Linked DNA regions of Homo sapiens: regions 2 and 3 are each linked to region 1. The links are contacts of gene promoters, found by promoter capture Hi-C in human tissues and cell types (Jung and others, 2019). All regions are on one chromosome and are shown on one strand. Each heading gives the region's core, a stretch centred on a gene start or on the middle of the fragment in contact. The rest is flanking DNA. Distances are from core to core; before and after follow the strand shown. Region 1 holds the start of CCDC146 (coiled-coil domain containing 146). Region 2 overlaps GSAP (gamma-secretase activating protein). Region 3 overlaps GSAP (gamma-secretase activating protein).

The links. The method cuts DNA at HindIII sites, captures the fragments that hold promoters and counts their contacts. A contact is called where the count stands out against the background at its distance.
Region 2: a contact is called between a fragment that was not itself captured here and the fragment with the promoter of CCDC146 in region 1, in 7 of the 25 tissues and cell types used here (aorta, dorsolateral prefrontal cortex, hippocampus and 4 more).
Region 3: a fragment that was not itself captured here is called in contact with the fragment with the promoter of CCDC146 in region 1 in 2 of the 25 tissues and cell types used here (aorta and pancreas).

Annotation. Positions count from the first base shown.
Region 1 is chr7:77,121,251-77,124,403 of GRCh38, reverse strand. It overlaps CCDC146 (coiled-coil domain containing 146), which reads right to left and starts at 1,789. Exons shown (of 19, transcript NM_020879.3): 1 at 1,672-1,789. It also overlaps the pseudogene FAM185BP. RefSeq lists a silencer at 2,004-2,103 and enhancers at 1,999-2,498, 2,499-3,000. The HindIII fragment of the contact is 9,649 bases long and covers 608-3,153 here.
Region 2 is chr7:77,315,487-77,318,731 of GRCh38, reverse strand. The region is part of intron 26 of GSAP (gamma-secretase activating protein); the gene reads left to right. Among named protein-coding and RNA genes, the nearest start is that of CCDC146-AS1, 68 kb to the right of the region's middle. RefSeq lists an enhancer at 2,139-2,640. The HindIII fragment of the contact is 3,482 bases long and covers 1-3,245 here.
Region 3 is chr7:77,353,965-77,357,615 of GRCh38, reverse strand. GSAP (gamma-secretase activating protein) reads left to right here. Exons shown (of 31, transcript NM_017439.4): 15 at 1,969-2,061; 16 at 2,186-2,403. Among named protein-coding and RNA genes, the nearest start is that of GSAP, 61 kb to the left of the region's middle. The HindIII fragment of the contact is 5,107 bases long and covers 1-3,651 here.

The sequences.
Region 1 (3,153 bases), core at 540-3,039:
ATGGATGGAAGATACAACTTTTATTAATCATTGTTGATATGTGGACAGATTTGATACTCATTATACTGTTTTTAAGTGTCTATAACTTTAACTATTTTATACCAATCTTAATATTAATAATTTTCTCCATTTTCAACCTTGTATGATCAGCAAAGTAAATTTTCAGTCAATTCTATTTGGTTTTTGTTTGAAAAAGTAAAATAATGATTATGCAACATAGAAAATTATAGTTCAGTTGCCAATTCCATTAACTTAGTTTGTCTCAGAAACGGAAAAATTACCATAGACACAGAATTAACTATTAAGAATTAATATTTAATCTAAAAATGTCTAGTGTTTCTACAGAAAATTTGAGTACATTCTCAACTTCCTTAAACCAGTGCCTTTTTCAAATTTCTTTTCAAAGTTACACCTGTCAATTTTCATAAAAAATAGTTTGAAGATTATTCTGAATAATTATAACCAATGAAACACAAAGACAAGAAAAGAACTATTGCAGTGGGCCCTTGCTGAACCTGAGCTAGCACCTATAATGAGTGAGTCTTCACCGAAAGAAGAATAAGGAGGGAGCAAGGACTAGAAGGACAGAAAAGAGGCAATGATAACTTAAGAGAACACTGAATTTTTAAAAATTTTAAAAAGGTAGTGGCTAGCAGAGAACCTGAGACTTGTACCCATGAGAACTTTAGCCCAGTCTATCTATCACGATAGCCCCAAGAATTCTGGTCATTGTACTTGGGTAAGGGCTTCAATTTTTTAAGGCACTTGCATTTTATGAAATGTTAGTGTTTGCAGGTGTCTTGGCTAAATAATTTAGGGAATACATTTTAGGAGGAAGTAGGGGCACAGAGGGGGAGAGAGAAACCAGGCAGGAAAGAAGAAAAAAAGAAGAAAATAAATCTTTCTGTTCCCATTATTTTACTGCCCATAGAATTATAAAAGGTAAACACACACACACACACACACACACACACACACACACACACACACACACACACACCTTATAGGGTCATTTAGAACCATCTTTCTTCATTTTAAAACTAAAGAAACAGGTCTAGGTGACACAGATGAAGCAGTGGCAGAGCCAGGAAAATAATCTGACCCTTGTCCCTGCTCTTTCCACCGCACCATGGTGACTCTCTTTTTTGTGTCTTTTTTTTTTTCACTCTAAAACTGATGATCATTTGTAGTCAAAGAGATCAATGCTATTCTCAAAACAAGTTCTGATCTCTCATAATTTTCTTGGTAACTCAGAATCAATGTTAAGTACGTTGAAATAAAAATACAGTACTTTACACGGTAATTTGGTAGACTGTGCACCACGGTCCCATCCATTTTCTTACTTGATCCTCACAAAAACCCTTTGAGGCAAGGCAAGGAAGGTATTATCATCTACATTTTTAAAGTGAGCAAATTAAAACCCAAAGTAAGGTCACTTAGGGTCAGGACGGAGCAAGTACTCTATTCCTATATTTGGAATATAGGAGGGAATACACTTCCAAAGAGGCAATTCCCTCAAAAAGCACCAATCTTGCTCTTTACTCTCTTACCAAGGCATTCTCCATGCCCTGGAGATGCCCGCACTAGGTTAGTGAAGCTTGGATCTTGACATCCACATAGGTTACTCCTAGTTTGCACCTAGTTGTCAACTTAAAAAGCGCAGTTTCTTACCCCTTCCCTTGGTCCTGATCCTTATTTAGGCTCCTATTTTTCTCTTTGGGATTTGGCCTCCTGGGTCTCACTCCAAAGCTCCACCCTCTCCAAACAAGAAGTCGCGTCCTTGGTATCCAAGGTGACCATGCAGCTTTACCCTCGTTGCCCCCTTCCGTGCTTCCCATTGGCCAGTGGCCTCCCATGTACCGCCCCTCCAATAGCCAATGGTCTTGAAACAAAGGGCGCCCGCCTTTCCAGCGATTCTAACACCTGCCCTCTTACCCGTGCTCCCCTGCGCATTGCCTCCTGGGATATGTGGTTTCTAAGAGGCGGAGCTCTGCGACTTTCCACCGCTTTAGAACTACGTATCCCGTCGGCCTTAGCGAAAGGGGGTGGACTTAGGCAAGGGGTCCAGGTCAGAGTTCAGAGCTTTCAAATCCCAACTTGCCCCTGGGGATTACGCAGCTGATGTTTACATCGCCTAGTCAAGCCAACCGGCTCGCTCTTGTTTCAGCAAACCCTGACTTACGTCTCCTATTTGACTTGAGGCGGCACAGTGGCCAAGTCGATTGGCCGTGGCAAGTGACCCTCCCTGTGGCTGAAGTGTTCTGAGGACTGGCGAGAGAGGCGCGCCATGCTTGCCCCCTGTTCAGGTTGGGAGCTTGGCTGCTTCCGTCTCTGTCTCCGTCAGGTCCGACTGTGGGCTGGCGCTGGGCGCTGGTCTTGCTGGGCTTGCCAAGCCAGGCCGTACAGCTCAGGTAGGGGCGAGCGCTGGCCCGGATCGGAGACTGAGGTCCCTCCGCCTGGCCCGGCGCGCCGAACTCTGAAGGAGTGGACACTGCAGGTGAGCCCGTTCGGTCGGCTGCGGGCGCGGCTCCCGTGCCACCTGGCCGTGAGGCCCCTGGACCCCCTCACCTACCCGGATGGCGACCGCGTGCTGGTCGCGGTGTGCGGCGTGGAGGGCGGCGTGCGGGGCCTGGACGGCCTGCAGGTGAAGTACGACGAGGATCTGGAGGAGATGGCCATTGTGTCTGATACTATCCACCCCCAGGCGTCCGTGGAGGTGAACGCGCCCCTGAAGTTTGGCAAGTGAAGTGAAGTGAAAACGGGTTTGGGTCCCAGGGAACGCACAGTGAACTTAATAAATTTGGTCGACGTGCACTTTTAATTGGTCCTGGCTTTCTAAACCTAATTTACAGTTGGCCCCTTCGGAAATGCAACTTTTCCTCTGTTCTATTCTTGAGTATCCGAGTAGTATTTAAAAAATTAGGTTCCCAATTATAGAAATTTTATACATCGAATGGAAACACGATTTGGTATAATCCAGGTCAAATTCTATTTCTGGAGCCGCTTGTGTTCTTCTTTATCCCGTTGTCATTAGCAAACTGGCTTATTTTTCAAGGTTGAAGTTTCTTGACAATTCATTCAATGGTATGGCAGTCCATCTACATTTCCCCTTGCTCACAGCCTGGGGGTGTGTCCCAAAACAGCCCTGTCAAT
Region 2 (3,245 bases), core at 396-2,895, 190 kb before region 1:
TGTTTAACTTTCTAATGCATTTTGAGTTGAATTTTGTTTATGGTAAAGATAAGGGTCCCATTTCATTCTTTTGCCTATGGACAGTTTTTCCAACACCATTTATCAGAGATACACGATCCTTTCCCCATTGTGTGTTCTTGGTGCTTTTGAAGATTAGTTGCCTAAACATGAATGGATTTATTATTGCATATAAAGTTCTAATGAGTGTTAAACTTTATGATAGCTGTAACTACATATCAGCTGATATTTAGTTACTTCATTCATATATATTCATCCATTCATCATTTGTTCATTGCTTCATTTTAGGCCAACATATATATGATACTCATTTTGTGCCACGTACTGTTGAAAGTACACACAAATTAGTACACTTAATTTTCATAAAATTTTAACTGGTAGAAACTTAAGTTGGACCACATTAAATTGTCAGTGCCCAACCATTTTTTGGCCAACAAAAATGGCACTTTCATGTGGTTCCACTTAATATTATTCCCATTTTATAGATGGTGAAACTGAGGCCAGAAAGGTTGAGTAATTTGCCTAAAGTCACATAGCTATTAAGTGACAGAGCTGATATTCAAATCCAGGCAGTTTGGCTCCAAAATCCATGCTGCTTCTTGAATTTTATATTCCAGTTGAATTAGTTGATGTTGAAACATGGGCTATTTATGGGCCTAAAGAATCCCTACAGCATATGCTGCTCTGCATTTATGACACATCTGATACGGTTTGGAATCCTTCATTCTTCATCCACCTTATTTAATGTCTGTCTGTATGGCAGTACAAAAGGAGTTGAAAGGGACCATTTGTGAGGGGAATGGATGGTTTAAAATTATCCCAATGGAATATGAGTTATGAGGTACACCCTAGAAAGATTGAAGGATTACAGGAAAACTACCTTTGTGGCTTAAATTCTTAATTGTTTGTTGTTAACACAAAAAATTTGGTAGGGAAATGGATTGACAGTTTTAGATTTGTTCATTACAGATATTCAAGCTTCTTTTGAAAATAAATGAAACTGACTTACTGGGGACATTGTTACGCCTGGAGATCATAAAAATCCACTTTCTACCCAACTCACATTCCTTCACAGTGATAAGGAGGGAAAACAAAGATGTTATCCATAGTGATCGAGAATTATTATAAGTAGACTTATGGCTTGTGTCTGTGGGTCAGGTAAGGAAAAGGTGTTTCTCATTTTTTTAATTATACTTTAAGTTCTAGGGTACATGTGCACAACGTGCAGGTTTGTAACATAGGTATACATGTGCCATGTTGGTTTGCTGCACCTATTAACTCGTCATTTACATTAGGTATTTCTCCTAATGCTATCCCTCCCCCAGCCCCCAACCCCACGACAGGCCCCAGTGTGTGATGTTCCCCCCCAACCCTTGTCCAAGTGTTCTCATTGTTCAATTCCCACCTATGAGTGAGAATGTGTGGTGTTTGGTTTTCTGTCCTTGGGATAGTTTGCTGAGAATGATGGTTTCAAGCTTCATCCATGTCCCTGCAAAGGACATGAACTCATCCTCTTTTATGGCTGCATAGTATTCCATGCTCTCTCCTTTTCTCTTGAATGTTTATTTCCATCATGTGACATGGAAATAGAGGGGGGAGGTGACACTGGATCATGTGTGTGTGTGCATGTGCATGCTTGTATGAATTCAGGGTGTTTCTATATGCACATGCGTAAGTGTGCTTGCTTTCCAGGCCTATTGGACTAATGATGACTGTTTGAGTTACGATTGTCAGAGACTTGTAACATGAATTGGTTAAAGTTAAGAAGAGAATGGGGAACACAAAAAGGAAGTCAGGGTTTAGAGCTAGGGCATTTGCTTTTAAAAAAAGGAACTGTATTGCACTTGCTGGCTAGAGGAGGCCAGGAGCCCTGGAAGATGAGGATTAAAGTTGGGTGGAGCTGATGACTAATTATAGCCAATTTGCTCTGTTGCTCAGAGCTGATGTATAGAGGCCAAGAACAGGTCCCTGAACTTGGGACTGTGCCCTGGGGATAGAGGATGAAGGGTCATCAGGGACCTTTAGCATATGAACACAGGGCTGGAGAGGGAAATTTGAATCCAGAAAATCAATATCATCAATAATCTAGTGTAAACTTTTCTTCAGAAATAATTTTGTAACTTTTTACTAATAGTTTTGTGAAGAATTTCCAAATCCATTTGAAAAACGTTGTTGTTAATTAACTAGTAAAATAGTGGAGTTTTTTTGGACTCAGGGAAGCTAGTGGACTCATCCTGTTAGCCCATTAACACATGCTTGTGGGCAGAGCCTGTACTTCATCTGACCCTTGATGTTACAAGGACTTAGGACTGTGCCCCATGGCTTGTGATTCATGTGTTTAGAGAGAGAAAATCCCATGATTTCTCTGAATCCAAGCCCTGCTCGTTGGGCATCATCCTTTTGTCAGGTACCTTCCCAAGAGTAGGCTATGATTCTTCTGTCAGTCATTCCCACATTCAATGAGTTGCAAAGCCTGTACATGTTACCATGCCTCTCTGATTCAGTGCCTCCATTACCTCTTATCCACGTTCAGGCAATAGCTTCTCTACAGGTCTTCATACCTTCTGTAGCAAATTATTACTCCAACTCATTCTTTGCCTGTTGCCATATTAATATCCCAATGGTAAATCTTCTGTTCTGCTTAAAAACTTTCATTACCTCCTCAAAGTCTCTCAAATTAATAAATCTCTATCATTCAGCATTCAACCTCTGTCACCTGCACTCATAAGCACAGAACTGGTCACATTTTTAAAAATGTCTATTTTTTGTAATTGATTGTCTGCCTCCCCCAGCAGACTGCAAGGTGTATGGGAGCAGCAGTTGTGCCTGTTTTGCTCATTTTTATACTCTTAGCCCCTTGCCAGGTGTGTGGAAGGGATGTGCTGAATAAATTAGCTTTTCCAACCTTACCTCTTAATCTTTCTCTCCTCTAATATGATTCCAACCCAGCTGGATCATTTACTATTTTCTGAATATGCCCTGTGCTTTCTCATCTTCGGACCTCTGTTCATGTTCTATTAACACAGCTGCCAGTTATTAACAGTGACATTATGGTTGAAAGCCTACCCTACAATCACACAGTTGATGCAAATTTCAACTTACACATTATTATTTCTGTGATCCTGGGCAAGTTGCCTAGCTCCTGTGAATCTTGGCTTTTGGTTTTTCCATTTATGAAATGGGAATCTAGTAATTCCCACCCCATACTTTTGTATGAGGATCAGATG
Region 3 (3,651 bases), core at 220-2,719, 230 kb before region 1:
GTTATTAGTGTATGTTATGTGTGGCCCAAGGCAATTCTTCTTCTTCCCAGTGTGGCCCAGGGAACCCAAAAGATTGGACACCCCTGACTAGAGGCTAGTATTTCTTGGCTTGTGGCCACTTCGTTCCAACTACTTTCCTCATTGTATGGTCGTCTTCTCTTCTCTAGTCAAATCTCCCTCTCATAAGGACTTTTGTGCCTACCTGTGTCTACCTGGATATTCCAGGATAGTCTCCCCATCTCAAGATCCTAGTCACATCTGCAAGATCTCTTTTACCCTATTCACAGGCTCTGGGGATTAGCACGTGCATATCTTCAGGAGCCATCATTCAGCCTACCACAGATACTACTGCCCCTTTTGGTGAGACAAAAATTCCCTGTTCATTGAGGGACTGAACATCCATCCCTAGAGCCTACTCACCAAATGCCAAATAGGAATCTCCCTCTCACTACCTCAATGATGTTAACAACCCAAATCACTGTCATATATTTTCAAATGCCACCACCCCACGGACATAGTGCCATCCTAATTAACTAGTTAAGTGGTACAGCTGGGAGGTAACTAGGTCATTTGATGCCGATACCCTTTCCATTATGTCCCACTGTATTGTTGTTTGTGGTTTTCTAGTAAAGTGTTGCTATAATAAGATGATTGCAACCATTTGTGCTAAGCACTTTAGCATCATTTAATCCACGTTGACTGAAAGGACACTTGTAAGTCAACTGGTTTGAGTTCTATATCCTCTTCCCTTTCCACAGAACGCCTTCTATGCAAATGATTAGCATGTGTTCCTTCACTTCTTAGGAAAAGGAGTCTAGCTGGCTCACTTATAATCTAAATGTTTCATCTATATAAAATTACTACTGTGTGAATTTCTGTTTTCTAAGATCCTAGAAAAAGTATTGGCAAGGGCTACTTCCACCCTTCCATTCTCCAGAAACCTATTTTTTATACCTTGTCTCCATCTGAGTACAAATGTTCTTGATTCAAAAATATCTAGTGCAGGGACTGAAGGTGTGAATTCTAGTCAGCTTGATATGCAAGGAAATAAATTAGTACTTCACAAAGTGTCAATGTGTCTGCAGAGATTATTCTGATGAATATCGATTTAAAGGTTCTCTAAACAAAATGCTCCTGCTACTGATGATGATAATGATGATCACTGGACAAACATGGGCAACAAAATTTTAGAGCTTCCCGAAACTGGCAGAAATTATGAAGAAAATTCCCAATATAGGCTATTTCCAGCTTATCAAATTAAGGAATAATTCGTGTTGCTTGATATTTTTATTCTAATTTGCTCTGAGATCATTTAGATTCACATAAAGCCACAAATCACTTAGAAACAAAACTGCAGGTATAAATTAAGATAACCATAGCTAAATATCTGAAGAAAATTAGCCAAAGATGGAAATAAATGAGGTTTACCTAGTAAGAGAAATGTGGCTGGGTGTGGTGGCTCATGCTTGTAATCCCAGCATTTGGGGAGGCTGAGGCAGGAGGATTGCTCAAGCCCAGGAGTTCAAGACCAGCCTGGGCAACATGCCTGTAATCCCAGCACTTTGGGAGGCCGAGGCAGGAGGATTGCTTGAGCCCAGGAGTTCAAGACCAGCCTGGGCAACATGGTGAGACTCCATCTCTATAAAAATAGAAAATATTAGTGGGGTGTTGTGGGCACAGTCCTGTAGTCCCAGCTACTTGGGAGGCTGAGGTGGGGAGGATCACTTGAGCCCAGGAGTTTGAGGCTGCAGTGGGCCGACATCACACCACCGCTACTCCAGCCTGGGTGACAGAGTCAGACCCTGTCTTAAAAAAAAAAAAAAAAAAACGGGCTGTCATTAGATAGCTTATTACATTGGTAAAACTTTTGCCTTTTGAGATATTCAGAGACAAGCAGGGATAATGTGACATTCTGTACCTGTGCAGCTTTTACCACATGTAGATGATGTAAATCTTTCTCTTCTATAGACTATTATGTGGCTGTTTACTTACCTGGTCATTTCTTCCACCTACTTAATGTTCAACATCCAGACCTGATCTGCCACAATCTCTTTCTGACAGGTACGGCTATAGTTTTTCTCTTGTAGAGGTGGCCCATTTGAGTTTGTTTTGACTTTAATATCTATGTTTGGGTGAAAGGAGTTTCTTCTATTTGCTGATCTACTGTTTTTTTTTTTTTTGCCAGGAAATAATGAAATGATTGATATGCTACCTCATTGCCCTTTACAGTCATTGTCAGGGTCCCTGGTATTGGATTGTTGTTCTGGAAAGCTCTATAGAGCACTGCTCAGCCAGTCGTCTTTATTACAGCTTCTGCAGAACACTTGCTTAGACTGTGAGAAGATGGCTGCGTTGCACTGCGCGCTCTACTGCGGTCAAGGTGCGCAGTTCCTGGAAGCCCAGGTGAGAAGATAGCTCATGTTTTAAAATGGGCAGATAGACGACACTGAACATATTTATTTTGTGGTTGAAAATGGTCAGGAGTTATTTTTATTTAGTAACAATTAATTGAGGTGTGTGGCCTTGCTGCTGACATCGTCATCTTTTGCGCTGCTTTTTTATGGATCCCTACCAGGTCTCACACTCAGGGTGTTTCTGTTCTTTTGGGTACCCCCTTTTCCATATTGGGAATAAAAGTTTAGCTATGTCAGTAATATTTCAATGAAGAGCTCAGTAAATAATGCGTTTCTTAAATATCTACTTTTTCTCCTGGTCTGTATTTGATCTATAATTATCAAAAGGACTAAAATCTGGTGGCAGATATTTATTACATTTGTAATAAAAATAGCTTACATTTGTATTTCACATTAGAGTTTATTAAGTACTTCCACGTGCATTCTGTGTTATTTTACAGCTATCCTGTGAAGTCAGAAAAATCTCTTTATCAGATGTGGTTAAGATCAAAGAGTGGCTGGTTAACTACAAAAAAAAAAAAAAAGACATTAGACGTTTTATTTTAACCTGAAACATAACAATGTACATTATTCACCCATGTTTTGACTCAAGCCTTTCTTTGTGCATCTGCTAATTGAAGTTCAACATCATTTTTCATGCATAAAAGCACTAGTAATGAGTTACCTCTAACTTCCTGTTACTTTTTAAAAATTTTTATTTCTAAGGATATAGTAATTTAAAGACCCTTACAAAGCAAGCTGTGTATACCAGGCATTTTTTACCCAATCTTTTTTAGTTGTTTCCCCTAAACCTAATTTTCTAGTGTTTTAGAGACATGCCTTTGACTCTTTACAAAGCATTCAACTTTTACTGACCCAATGACACTCTCTGCATCCACATTTTACTTGTCGATAGTAATATCGTATTACCTAATTTTGAAAATAAGTACAATAACATAAATCGGTTTTGAATTAAACAGCTTACTGGTAGGAGCAGAAGTGCAAGTGTGCACCATGGTTAGGCGTGCCTTATAATATCTGTCAGTGCTGAGATGGAAAACATTCCTCTAGCAGGTGAGGATGATTATGGAGATGAGCGAGTTGATGGTATAGCAGGGATTATCCCTCCCTCAGGAGGCAGTACAGTGATGCTCACAAAGGTTAACTGGTGTGTCCGTATTCACACCCAGGACCCAGCTGGAATTCACACCCAGCTCTGCTGCCCTCAAGCCTAGTGGTTTTGTTTTTCTTTTTTTCC